Regions from separate parts of the Homo sapiens genome. Here region 1 is linked to region 2. The links are contacts of gene promoters, found by promoter capture Hi-C in blood cells and fetal thymus (Javierre and others, 2016). All regions are on one chromosome and are shown on one strand. The core of a region is centred on a gene start or on the middle of the fragment in contact, and the rest is flanking DNA. Distances in the headings are between cores, read along the strand shown.

Evidence for each region. Contacts are between HindIII fragments. The CHiCAGO score rates a contact against its expected background, and 5 or more counts as called.
Region 1: a fragment that was not itself captured here is called in contact with the fragment with the promoter of MFSD6 in region 2 in 2 of 17 cell types (fetal thymus and total CD8 T cells); the score reaches 5.1 in fetal thymus.

Annotation. Positions count from the first base shown.
Region 1 is chr2:191,680,244-191,686,963 of GRCh38, forward strand. NABP1 (nucleic acid binding protein 1) reads left to right here. Exons shown (of 6, transcript NM_001031716.5): 3 at 1,703-1,774; 4 at 3,486-3,561; 5 at 3,987-4,053; 6 at 5,356-6,700. The coding sequence ends at 5,525. Among named protein-coding and RNA genes, the nearest start is that of NABP1, 5.5 kb to the left of the region's middle. RefSeq lists an enhancer at 1-263. The HindIII fragment of the contact is 198 bases long and covers 1,192-1,389 here.
Region 2 is chr2:190,406,952-190,414,102 of GRCh38, forward strand. MFSD6 (major facilitator superfamily domain containing 6) reads left to right here and starts at 1,404. Exons shown (of 8, transcript NM_017694.4): 1 at 1,404-1,552. RefSeq lists an enhancer at 675-724 and a silencer at 985-2,024. The HindIII fragment of the contact is 2,674 bases long and covers 164-2,837 here.

The DNA.
Region 1 (6,720 bases), core at 41-2,540, 1.3 Mb after region 2:
CATTAACTGCAGGGAAAGTGGTGGAGATTGATGTTGGCCTAATAAGTAGAATCTTAGAAGTATTGGAAAGCACTGAGAGTAGGAGCTTAGAGCTCCTTGGTGTTACCTTGCAGGCTTACAACATCTTCAGGAAGTGAGGTAAAGTGTCATCAAAGCAGGAAGTGAGAGTCAGGACTTAGACATTTTCTTCTCATACACTGACTCATGACAGTAATTTAAACTTCCACATCTTTAAAAAACAAAAGAGAATTCCTTCTTAGGGAAGTATGGTGAGGATTGATTAGTATAATTGGAGTTTTTGGCTCCCCAAATATTTTTCACCCAATGATTGAAAGTATTTTTTACGCTAAAAACGGCATCTTATTTCAAGTATTTCATGTTCTGTAGTGACAGTCATAGGTGTTTCCATCAAAAAAATTATTGGAAAATTAAACTTATTAGTTAGGTACTATAGAATTTTAAGGGGAACAATTACCTGGGAGTACAATTTAAACGAAAATTAAAAACTATAGAAACTCTATTTACTACTTCAGTATGACCTTGAGAAGTTACTACACCTCATACTTCAGCTTCCTCTTCTGTGAAATGGGAATAATTATACCTTATTTACCAAAACAACACACTCAGCTTGGAGTCTGGCTCATTCTAAGGCCCTTAAATTCTGGTTGAATCTAAGAAAAGTAGCTTTTGAAGAAAAACATACCTAACATCTAAATAATGGTTCAAATATCAACATGTTTATCAGAATACCCTGAAAACTTACCTCAGTGTTCTCATTTCTTAAAGTGAATGTTAAATATTTTAATTGTAACCAAATTTTTTCTCAAAATATGGGTTAATTTTTATTTTAGTAAGGTGAAATGTTAATGCACTGTATCCTAAGCCACTCTTTGTATAACTTAAGAGTGGTGAATGGTGTCTTTAATAAATAACCCTTTAATTAAAGTAAAGAGAACTGTATAGTAAGTTAAAGTCATGAAGTTACCATAGTAGTTGTACAGAGAACCATTGAGAACCAAACCTTGGATTGATTTTATAATATTAATTTACCTTTTTCTTAGATATCTAGGATTATTTTATGTAGTGATGCTGTCTGCTTTCAAAATTGTTCGGAGTAAACATTTGCCAGTTTGTTTACTACAAACCCAGCATGGTATTAAAAATCACATGTTTGGAAAGGCAGATAGGTGAAGCTTTGTGACCTTAGTGTTTTTTTTAGCACTTTGAAATTCTACCAGATCTTCGGTAGCTTAGGAATCCTGTGTCTTTTATGGAGGCAGAAGGAAAACTGTTATATCATTATTTGACTAGACTGTAAATGAAACATTAGGATGATTTTACATATCTTGTGGCTGAAAAATAGTTTCTGTTTAAATTTCTGCAATTAAAAGCTTTTGTTTTGTTAATTGACTAAAGATGTGATCATTGGGTATAATAATACTGGCTTTGCGAAAAGACTTATTTTCCAGAATTTGTTATGATTTAGATAATTATGTCAAAATTCGACAGAATTTTTGTATTCTTTTGTAAATAGCAAGTTATCAAAGTTAGATTTATTGTATTTGATTTACTATGGTGGATAGAGAGGGCTTGATCCTCACTTCTACCTTAATACAAAAAATATATAGTGTGAAGATTTACTTGATTTAAATAGAAGAAAATAAATATATTTCTAAAGAATTAATGTTTCTTTTCTCTCTAGGTATGCATCCATGTGGAAAGGATGTCTGACACTTTATACTGGAAGGGGTGGTGAACTTCAAAAAATTGGGGAGTAAGTATTAAAATGCATTTTGTATAATTGCATATATTATAAATAATATCTACGGAATGATTGGTAGGTATGAATTGTAAACCTCTTTGGCTTTTTTGACTAGTAAACTGAATGTCTTTGGTAGCTTAATTGAAAAAATAACTTCGTGTATACAAATTTAACACTTGTCAGTACTGTTTTCTGTGGTTAAAAGTGTCAATTTTTCCTGGCAAAGAGCAGTAGAAGAAGCTGCAGTTGAGACCAGCCCTAGTGGAAGCATTTCTGTAGGTTTTAGAAATGTGCATTTTTTAGGTGTCACAAGAGCCATTTGAAGTAGATTCTCTTTTGTAGTGATTCACCATATACGAAGCTAGTGATTCACCAAGTTTCAGGCCATAAGTTTAAATTTTCTTTTTCTATGGTTATGGGTGAATATGTACTCATGTTAAAAAGGACTTGCAGCAACGAAAACTGAAGTCCTCTATTTATCCACAGTCTAGGTGCGGTGCAGGCAGCCGCAATGCGAGATTCCATACACTACTACCCTGGTAATGATCTCCACCCTGACCTGGAGGAGCCATCCTCTCTAGGGGTGTAAGGTAATTCAGCCTCCATGTTAGCCTAGACATTGGGTTGTATTCATAAAGTATGGTACAGGCAATGAGCCAAATCATCAGTCCATTCTGTTTGGTTAATGCTCTGCCATCTACTTAATGCCTGTCAAATTGGAAGATATTTAAAAAGAGAAGCCACAAATGGCACCAGATAAAAAAGGAAAACTGTTTGCCACTGAGGGAATAAGATGCTTATTTGGAGAACCTGTGGTTAATAATGAAGGAAAAGAAATGATCATGCTAGCTTTTAAAGATCAGAAACACTTAACGCTTTGCCTTTGTTAGAAGGGAAGTTAGGATTCACTTAGAGTAGCATTAATAGAGTTATGTGTTATGAAAGGTCTTAGTGTCTGTTACTGAAAGGTTCAGGATTCTGTCCTGACCTTCATGTATTCATACAGAGGTGTTGATAATAATGGAGGTCAGTTACGTGAAAAACCGTTAGAGGTCACTCATTTCTTAATGACTGCTCTTTGTCAGGGTCAGTCGAGGATTTACCAAAACTGGTTCTGATTTGTCTTCAGTATGGTGAGGAGTAATAAAATGCTTCTTTGTAATGTTAGTACACATTATATGGTCAACTTACAGGAAGCACTTGGATAAACTGGTGGCTATGTAGCCTGTTGTTATTATTTATTGCCTAGAAACCACTCTTAACCCTAAATGATTATCTTTGCAGATCCACAGTGATCGATCAAAAGAGGGACTGAATGGGAGTGGGTGAATGGATCGGTGCAAATCCATTACCACTGCTGGAGAAACCACCCTGGAACCCTAAACATGGTTCACTCTCATGTTATTTTTCCTTTGATCAGCTTTTGTGGAAAAACAGGACAGAGATGTTTTTGTGTCCTTGATTTTTGATGTGATTTTTTTTTCAGCACTAAAGAAGAATTTAAATACAAAATAGAATGTTATATATCTTGTAGACAGTCAAATATTTGATGTTTTATGGGACATAATCATTTGGGAAGTTTTTGTTGTAAATGAAGAGTTAGTTTGTTGCTATTAATTTGTTTGACACATAAGTTCATTCCTAAAAGTTAGAGATGTTACATAAAGAAGGGTTGAGGACTTTATTTCAGAAGTCATTTAATTTTTTCTTTATTTTCTTTCAGATTTTGTATGGTTTATTCAGAAGTGCCAAATTTCAGTGAACCCAACCCAGATTATCGAGGACAGCAGAACAAAGGGGTAATTGTGTAGTATACTTTTATGATTAGGCTAATTTTGACTGTGTTATAATTCTATGATTAGGCTAGCCCTGTTGATACTTAGTATAAAGAAGATAATTTTTAAAAGGATACTTAATTTTTATTGTATGTTTTGTGAGGATATGTATCTGAGGTGTCATCTACTAGATATATGTGCCATTTTGCACTTTGTGGTGTGCTGAGTAATTATCAGGAAATAGGATGTAACAGAGCTCTGAAAGGTTTGGGAAACGTTTCTTAACATTATAACCTTTAATGACCTAGGAAAAATCTTTAAAAAATTTGTTAATTAAAAAAAAAAAAAAAGCCAAACCCAAAACTTTAAAAAAGAAAGGATATAATAATGTTGTAATAATATAATTGTGTTTTTATTCTCGTTTGGTTAAATTAAAAACTTTTTTTTAGGCACAGAGTGAACAGAAGAATAATTCCATGAATAGTAATATGGGTACAGGTACATTTGGACCAGTGGGTAAGATTTTGTTTGTGTGTTTCATTTGTGATCAGGTATAAGAATGAAGAGAGCTGTAAAGATTCACGTGAAAAGCAACGTCTTTAGGCATAAATTAGTGATAAAGGTGAACTACCAGTAAACAGGGAATCCCCAAAGGGCTGATTTTCTAGAAAGTTGATAAACTTAAGCCAGTTTATTGAGAATTCTAAGTTTTTGTGATGTCCGTGAAGAGATACCATGCTATTTTTTTTTTATTGATTCCTATAAAATTTCTATAATCTAGTGATTACTTATAGTAGATGCAGAATTACTGGTTATTTTGGTGCACTGAAAGCGTTTTATCTTTAGAGTCATAGTTCACCTTAATTTTTCACATACAAGTAGCTGCTGCTTTAAAAGATGAGCTGAGCCGTTTAAAGGCTAGTGACCCTCAGATGTCATTTAACATGACCCCCAGACATCATGTTCATGATCCTTGTAGCTCTGTTAAAGGTCTTCTGAAGTCTTTTTTCTTAAATATATGAGGAAAAGTCAGTCTTTTGTGATTAGAGTTCATTAGGATGGCTCATGTTTTGGTTTTGTTTTGTTTTTGAGACAGGGTCTTACGCTGTTGCCCAGACTGGAGTGCAGTGGCGTGATCTTGGCTCATCGCAACCTCCACCTCGCAGGCTCAAGTGATTCTCCTGCCTCAGCCTCCCAAGTAGCTGGGATTACAGATGTGCACCACTACCACCCAGCTAATTTTTATATTTTTAATAGAGATGGGATTTCACCATATGGGCCAGGCTAGTCTCGAACTCCTGACCTCAAATGATCCACCTGCCTCGGCGTCCTAAAGTGCTGGGATTACATACAGGCGTGAGCCACTGAACCTGGCCAGCTCATGTTTTATTTGACTCGAAGGCTACATGTCTTGGCATTGCTGATCACATTGTGGGAAACGCTGCCTTTGCCTTTAAAAAGTTAGAATAACATTGTCTGTTTTGAGATATTAATCATATTTGAGCCAAATTCCAATATTCACTATTTTGCCCTTTCTTTTTCTTTTATAGTGTAGGCAATGCATTTTTTTACTCTATTAATTTCTAATTTTGATGCCCAAGTTGGCTTTTTTCTCTCTATTAATACAGCATCAAGTTAGCATATTTATAGCAATACATTTGGAAAAACTTAGAGCCCACATTGTTTTTTTTTTCTGTATAAAAATAAAAGTGTGTGCTTTAATATTTTTAAGCATTAATAACATGTTGGCACTTAAGATAGTTCTACTTCTATAGACTACCTCTGAAAATAGTGATGAATTTTTGTATTCTTTTTTAGGAAATGGTGTTCACACTGGCCCTGAATCAAGGGAACACCAGTTTTCACATGCTGGCAGAAGCAATGGCCGGGGACTTATAAATCCACAACTACAAGGAACAGCTAGTAATCAAACAGTGATGACCACAATAAGTAATGGCAGGGACCCTCGGAGAGCCTTTAAAAGATGACCTATGCTAAATACTCATGTGTAGTTTTTATACTACATGCCCTACTTGAACACTTATTGCACTTTTATTTATTGTTAACTGTGAAAAGTACGTCCTTTATTGGGTTTCCTTTTATATTCTTGGTTTGTTAAGAAGAATGGTTTGTTTTTATAGCAAAACTGTTAAGCTGCTCGAGTCTCCTGTTGAAGAATGGGAACACTGAAAAGTAGGGGCATTTATTTTTAGAGTAAAAAGATTATTGGATAGCCTTTAAAAAACCTGCACCCATTTCATGGGTGAGTTACTTAAGACATCAGCTTTATAGCCTCTATGAGTCTATCTTCTGTATAAGTTTTGTAATATTTAACATAAGGCTTAATGGGAGATGTTCTTTTGTCTTGTATTCAGATATTGCCAACTAAAGCAATAACCATCAAAAAACACAAGAACTTGTCAATGCTAGCAGTAATTTTTGAGTGTTTGTGGCTCTCGGAATGATTGACTTCGTTCAGTGACTACTATTAAGATTTTCCAAGGACTGACTCATCCCAAATTTTTGTTGTATTACCAAAAAAACAGATTCCTTATCAGAATTTGGAATAGAATGTGATCTCTATTGCAACAAGTAATTTTAAAAGAAAGCTACATTTATTTTAGAGTAGTGCTCCTAACATGTATTATCAACTTTGTGGATTACATTGGAGGAAAATTTAAAACTGGGGCCTTGAATATTTATTTTTTGAAACTACCATGTTAAATACTGAAGTATAATTTGGGGGAGTTATAAAGTTATGATAAACATTCATCTGATTATTTTAAACAATAGTTGTGGTAGATAAACATACTGGAGGTGAGTCAAATTGAATTCATATAGTAACATGCAGTCTGAAGTCCTAGTTACTTAATAGGTACTCAGCCTGGAGTGAAAATCCTGGGTACTGACTTTGAGAGGAGTGAGTGTGCATGTTGTCAAAGTTTCTGAACACAGTTCACATAGCCTTATTAGCAAAAGTTTTAAGAAATGGCTCTATCAAAGAAGCAATTGCAGCTTTATTCAGAAATATAAAAGTGGAATTTATGTACATGTCATAAGTGGTACCCACTTCCCCTTTTTACTGTAGGGTGGATAACTCTTAGGATTTAACTCTTTGAATATTATCTCTTGAATAAAGCATGTGTTAATGTTAACAAACCTACGTAATTTTTGCCCTTTCAA
Region 2 (7,151 bases), core at 154-2,653:
AATCCAACACTTACGGAGCACCAAAAGAAGAGAAGGGAAGAGTTTCAAGGAGGGGACCAGTGTCTCGTGTTCCTGACAGGAGAAAGAAATGCCTGGAGAAAGAAATGATTGAATATCTACGTCAATATTGAAAGTGGATTTAGCATGAGGCTACTATAGTTTAAGCTTCAGAGACCCTTCATAAGCTCAGGAAGGGGCCCTAGAAACTTCGTATTTGTAATTGTTTTATTCTTCCTAAAGAGGGACTCAAAATTCAGAAACTTCAGGGCCTATCAAATTCTTACCAGTATGATTTCACGGTTAAGAGCTTAAAGCCTGGAGACAAAAGAAGCCTGCTTTCCCTTTCGCTGTTTAGTAACTTTGGATGGGTCACATTAACTTTCAGCCTCGGCTTTCCTCAGTTGTAAAATGGGAATAACGTTTCCTACACCTATAGGGTTATAAGGCTCAAAGAGTACCTACACAGTGCCCCGTACATAATCGATGTTTATAAGCGTTAGCTACCATTGTCACTCTTGTCGTTGTTGCCGTTAGCTACCATTGTCACTCTTGTCGTTGTTGCCAGAACAAGACAATAAACTCCTTAAGAACAGGATGTGGCATCCCCCAAAGCCCATCACAGGCACACAGACATACTTGCCAAGTGAATACTCCACTCTCCCCCAACTCTCTGCGTGTTTAACTAGAAATACAACTTTAATTATATTCTTAGTGCGACACACACGGTTGGCTTTTCAGCAAGATGCCAGTAGCAGCTTCCTGAAAAAGGGTGCCTTCGTCTCAGTGTTCCCCCTTCTTGGTGAGCCCCGAAACTCACAGATCGTTTGTCTCCCGCACCCCGCCGGCTCCTCCCTCCCGGGTCAACCTGGGACAGACGCGGAGATAACGCACTGACAGCATTAGCATTGTGTGTGCCACTTAAAAGGCGCTCAAGGAATAAGGGATGTTAGTACATTTTCCCCCACATTTCCTGGCCCGCACTCATTGCCTGGGGGCTCAGCGGAAGTCGCTTGGGGGTGCGGGGGGGTGGAGGGTGCGGTAGGGATGGAGCCTCGCCCAGTGCTTTCGCCTCCTCAGCGTGCTCCCCGGGCCCGGCTGGGTTCAGGTGTCCCTCCGGGCCGCCGGGGCGGGCTGGAGGCCGGGAGCGGGCAGTCGACGCATCCGCCGCCGCCGCAGGAGGCGGAGCGCTGCACCTGGCGGCCGGTCCTCAGCGCCCGGCCCTGAAACGGGTCCAGCCGGTAGTGACCGGCGGCGGCGACTGTGAGGCCGGGGCCGGGGAGGAGGAGGAGCCGCAGCGGGAGAGAAGGTCGCGCCGGCGGGAGCGCTGGGCCCTCCGCCTCCGTCCTCCGTGGCCCCACCCGGTCCGCATCCCTCGCCTCGCCTCGCCGCGCCCCGCCCAGCCCGTCGCAGCCCCGGAGGAGCGCGCGAGCAGCCCGGGATGGTGCGCGCTGCCCCGACAGCCGCCGCCCCGGCGCCCCGAGCCGCCGCCCCGTGCTCCGGGGACAGGGCTCCCCGCGCCCCGCGCAGCTGAGCGCTGCCGCCGCCGCAGCAGGTGAGTCGGGCCCGGCTTGCGGAGAAGGGGCTCGCAGACCCGCCCTGGCCTCCCCCGCCCCGCACGGGCCCAGCCGGAGGGCGGGTAGGCACCTCAGCCGCGCACACCTGCTGCCGGGAAAGGGGCTTCGGGGCCGGGGCTCGGAGCCCAGCGTGCGCCGCTGTCTCCGCTCGGGCCTCGCTCGCCCGCCGCTCCCTCCCTCCCTCCCTCCCCCGGCTTCCGTGTCGGGTGTCATCTTTGTGGGGTGCTGGGGGAGGCTGCCGCCTGCGCCCCCAGCGCGCCCCGTGCTGGCAGCACTTCCGCAAACGTAACTGGAGTCGGGAAAACAAAGGCGCTGCCCAGGGAGCCCTCGCCGGGCGCCCACAGCTGCTGCCGCGGGTGGGGACGGAGGGTGAGCGCCGATGCCCGGGTCCTCCTCCGCCCGGGCCGACCCGCGCCCTCGCCATAAACATCCCTGGGAAAAAGGAGGAGGTGAGAACCTCCACACAGCCCCAGTGACAAGGACGCGGCCACTTGTGTGGCAGGAGGAGGAAATTGACAACGTCTGCCCTCCCAGGTTAATAAATACGGAAAAAAAAATACCTCTGCTCTGCCAGCCACCATCCTAGCAGACATCCCCCACCTCGTGCTTTACTTCCACTTGGTCTAACATGTCTCTGGAGCCCTTTTGAGATACTACTGGGGGTTGCTAGTCTTTCTGGGTCATATTTATTGCCCATAGAGCAATTTTCCTGCAAATTTAGGTAAGATGGTGGAAAAATACAAACGCAACTTTCCCCCTCGTTAATCCCATCCCCACATGGACAGACAGGTGGGTTAATTACCTTTATGCATTCGCAACCACGGACGTTTCTTTTCATCCCAAAAAGATTGAATAAGCACCTCACAGAACTACTGGAACATATAATACCTTGCTTATTAGTGTGCAAAAGACTTAAAGAGTTGGGGTTCTAATCCCAACTGGTATTTAAATAGATGTGTGTGCTTGGGCATGTCACATCTTCCTGAGCCCCAGTTTTCTCACATGGAAAAGAGGATGGTTGGATATTATAGTGGCCAAAATTTCCCCTAATCCTTCTAGAAGTCCATGATTTTCTAGAAATCTAACCTCTTAAGTATAGATGAATGTGAAGGGTGGGTGGACATACAGTTGACTAAAATATGTAATAAAAGGAGATGTGTACTTGGTAGGTCCTTTCCCCAAGATGTGGGCACTAGCCAGCTAAAAGTGTATGCATCTGTTTTAGCCTTGTTAAGTAAAAGGATAGGATCCTCCTCTTTGGGAAGCTTGGCTTTTGACACGTCAAGCTGCTAGCAGAGGTGCAGGATATGGTCAGCTGTTTAGTGATAGTCAGATGGCTTGTATTTATCACGAGGTGTAAGTAAAATTTAGGATTGCTTAGGGGAAGGATGGGACATTGTTAATGAGCCCAGTGCAGGATGCTCTGGGGAAACAGGAGGAGAGAACATCACTTCAATAATGCATTAAAGCTACTAAGTAGTTGTGTGTCCTTCATGTTTACAGCAGTTTATTTCTAAGGCACTTTCCATCTCTATACAAATAAATATAAAAGCGTGAAGGCAAATAAAACACAAAGACAAAAAGCAGAGTTCACAGGTATTTGGTGGTGTGAGTATTGGATCACCAATTCCATCATATATAGTGTCTGGACTATTAACAGTATTAAGGCATTTTTTTGGGTACTTATTATGTTCAAGACACCATTGTAAACATTTAGTATCTCAATCTCTGTAAGATAAATCTTTCCCCTAGTTCTGTGCATGACAAAAAGGAAGCTCAGAAGGGTTAAGCAACTTACACAAACCACATAATCAGTAAGAGGTAGAGTTAAATTTGACCTCATGTTTCTGGCTCCAAAGCCCAGGAAATTTCCACATGGTGTCCCTCCCTAATCAGAACCTATTAAGTCTCTCCACCTACGCAGATGTCTTCCTTAGCTTCGTGCCTTTGAAAATTAACTTGATTTCAATGTACATGTATTACTTATGTTAACATTTAGCCATGTAGGATAATTTATATATTTATTACGTATGTATATTAATGTGTGTATGTTTACCCTTTTGTCCTCACCAGTTGTAGATTGAAGGCAGTATGAAGCTGACAGGTTTCTTTGTTTTACTTCCTTTGACAGCAAATCTTAATTTGGCAATCTCATTATAGGGAAAGGAAGAAATGCAAAAAATGTGTGTCTGCTAGCTATTTTGCACATTGGCTGAAAAATCAAGATGCTGTATATTAAATGAAAAAAATGGCTGGGCAAGGTGGCTCATGCCTGTAATCCCAGCACTTTGGGAGGCCGAGGCAGGTGGATCACGAAGTCAGGAGTTCAAGACCAGCCTGGCCAAGATGGTGAAATCCCACCTGTAATAAAAATACAAAAATTAGCTGAGCGTGGTGGCGGGCGCCTGGAATCCCAGCTACTCAGGGGGCTGAGGTAGAGAATTGCTTGAATCCGGGAGGTGGAGGTTGCAGTGAGCCGAGATCGCGCCACTGCACTCCAGCCTGGGCAACAGAGCGAGACTCTATCTCAAAAAAAAGAAAAAAAAAAACTAGCTTCAGAAGAAATTTATATACATTTGTTTAAACCTGCATACAGGCACACATACGCCTTTTTGTCCCCAAACTGTTGACAGTAGTTTTTTTTTTTTTTTTTCAGACAGAGTCTCGCTCTGTCACCAGGCTGGAGTGCAGTGGCTCGATCTCGGCCTACTGCAACCTCTGCCTCCTGGGTTCAAACTATTCTCCTGCCTCAGCCTCCCGAGTAGCTGGGATTACAGGCACATGCCACCAGGCTCAGCTAATTTTTATTTTTTTAGTAGAGACGGGGTTTCATCATGTTGGCCAGGATGGTCTCCATCTCCTGACCTCATGATTCCCCTGCCTAGGCCTCCCAAAGTGCTGGGATTACAGGCATGAGCCACTGCGCCCAGCCGACAGTGGCTATCTTCAGGAAGTGAGACAAGATGGAGAAAAGAGGATGTTTTTGCTTTTTACCTTATAAAGTTATGTTTGGGCTTAAAATTTTGTTTTTGGAACAAGCATGTGTTCTCTTATTATATAAACTAAAAAGGAAAACAAAAGAAGACTAGAATTAATTGATTTTATAACAATCCAAAGTAAGATAAAATTGAATGTGCCTAAACTCTAATGTTAGGGAAGTGAAATGAGACTCAGGAGATCAAAGTGAAAGGTGGCATACTGAGAATTGGGGGGCAAAGGGTAAAGAGTCTCAGGTGACTGGCTTTTACTTTTTCTAATAGTAACTGTAGCATATTCTACAACTCCTCAGTTTTCCTCCTCAATAAGAATGCTTTGGAGCATACACAATTTATCTGCTTGATTAGGGGTGATAAGAATTTCTTTCTTCCTGGTCTTGCTAGTGGTGGCTGTCTTTGGAAGCATGATTGTTCTGTACAGAACAATCTGGTAGAAGGTAGGAGTTGGAGAAACCAATTTACCTGCTGTGTCATCTCATGAAATTATGGCATTCTGGATGACTTTAGGTATAATTATTTTTAGTAACAATTTAGGAGAAGCAAGTTATCATAAAGTTAAACTAATCTGATGCATATGTACTTGTTAAATACAGTCCCATAGTTCTATCCAATTCTATGTAAAATTAACTAAAACCACTGCTTAGAATCCTTAAAAATTAATACATTTCCAGACTTAGAAATCCAGAGCCATAATACATTCAGACTTTTCAGAATCAAGAAAACACATGCTTAAACTTGGTTAATTATCATTGTGGTAGTAGGTAATCTTGAGAAAGAGGGAATTGTAAAAGTATTTTACAGAAGAGATATTCTCACAATTTTAGGTATTATCCAACATTTCATTTTGGGTTCTAATTATGTTTTAGGCAGAAGGAAATCTCCATCTTTTAATTTAGGAAACTTTGTTCAATAGGTTATCTTTAAAGGCAGAAATCAAGTGCAAAGTCCTACCCTACTACAAGGCCAGTTTGGGTAAAATTTCTTCCTCAAACTCAACTAACATGGCATTTCCTTGGGCATAGCATTTTTGATTCCTGGGAAAAGCAAACAAACACATCTGATGTCAATTCTGTGTGGGGCAATGAAAACACCTTAATGCCTCCACCAAGAACATTTCCTTTGAGTTTATAATTCCTCCATGTTTAATTATCCAACATTAGCTGTCTGTTCCCATTTACTCTACTGGCATTTTGGGGGTGAGAGGGGCTTGTGTCAGCCTGATTTGTTTTCCTAAATTCTGAATGATACGTTATCCAGTACTTAGCCCCACTGCTGGATTCAGTAACATTTGCTTTGTAGCTGTTTTTGATTGCCCACATTTGGATGATATTTATTTACTGTTTTTGCAAAATGGCATTGTCTCAAGTTGGCTGGGCAACTTTTGGAATCTACCAGTCATTTGTTCAGACAAGTGATGTTTGGTGCAGGGGCCAAAACAGAAAAGCCAACCAAATAATAAATAATTACAAACGTGGAACACCTAAACCTTGAGCCTATATGTTAATATGTGTCTGCTATAGTTACTGGTTGCTATGTTATGGCTTTAAAAAGAGCACACCCTCCCAAACCCCCACCTCTACCTCAGCACCAACAAAAACTACATCCCAATGTTGTATGTATTCAAAGTAGCCTCTCCCTGCCTTGATCCATTATGATGTAAATCTAGCTGAGCCACGTGTTGATGATTATGTTGAAGAGATGTGAGTGAGAGTTCTGTATTACCTTGTGACCTGGTGGTCCTGCTGCATTTTAGGATGGGAGGGGCGGGGTAGAATGGGGGAGAATAGGGCAAAGATGGGAAGAAATTCAGACCCTTAAAAAACCATGTTCAAGAGATGTGGAAAAAAATTGAATTAAGGGGGGCAGAGATGTCTTTCTTTGACATTTGTTGTGGGGCATGTTTTAGAATGGGAGACCAATTCAGGAAACATTTGGCAAGTACAAAACAGGAAAGGCCAGCTCTGAATGACTCTGAGGAAATGTTTGGAAGCATTTTGATCTGAGACCAAGAGTGGGATGGGGGAAAGACAGGGAAAGACAGGGACACTATGAATCAGCAGTGGGCAGAGTGAGCTCTGGTGTGTGGCTTTGAGGAGGATAAAAAGGAGGAACTGGTGCTGCCTGAACAAGCCCGATGTGTGGGTTAACCGTGCCAAAGGAAAGTGAGTGGCGAGCCTGGACTGGTAGTTAGCAGTCTGTGTTGGTTATGTAGAGAGACCTTGTTCCACAGGCAGGTGCACTCCACTCTGCACGGGGCCTGCTCTCTCTGAGCTCCAATAAACCAATGTACCATGAGCCCTGCTATACTGTGGGGTGAAGAGGAGACATGGCAGTCAGGGCCCAGGATTCCAGGAGAAACTGAGCACTGGAGCAGTGGCAGGAGTGGGTCCCTGTGAGTCACGCTGGGAATTCTTAACTGTTCAGGGCACTTTTAGGGACAAAGTTAAGGTAGAACATACTTGGCCTCAAGGTACTTGGCTCAAGGTAGAGCAAAGGAGGAAGGCACCACACCAAACACATAAAGCAGAATCATACAAAGTGACATGCATGCTGCCTATGACTTTTAAGAAGTACTGTGTTC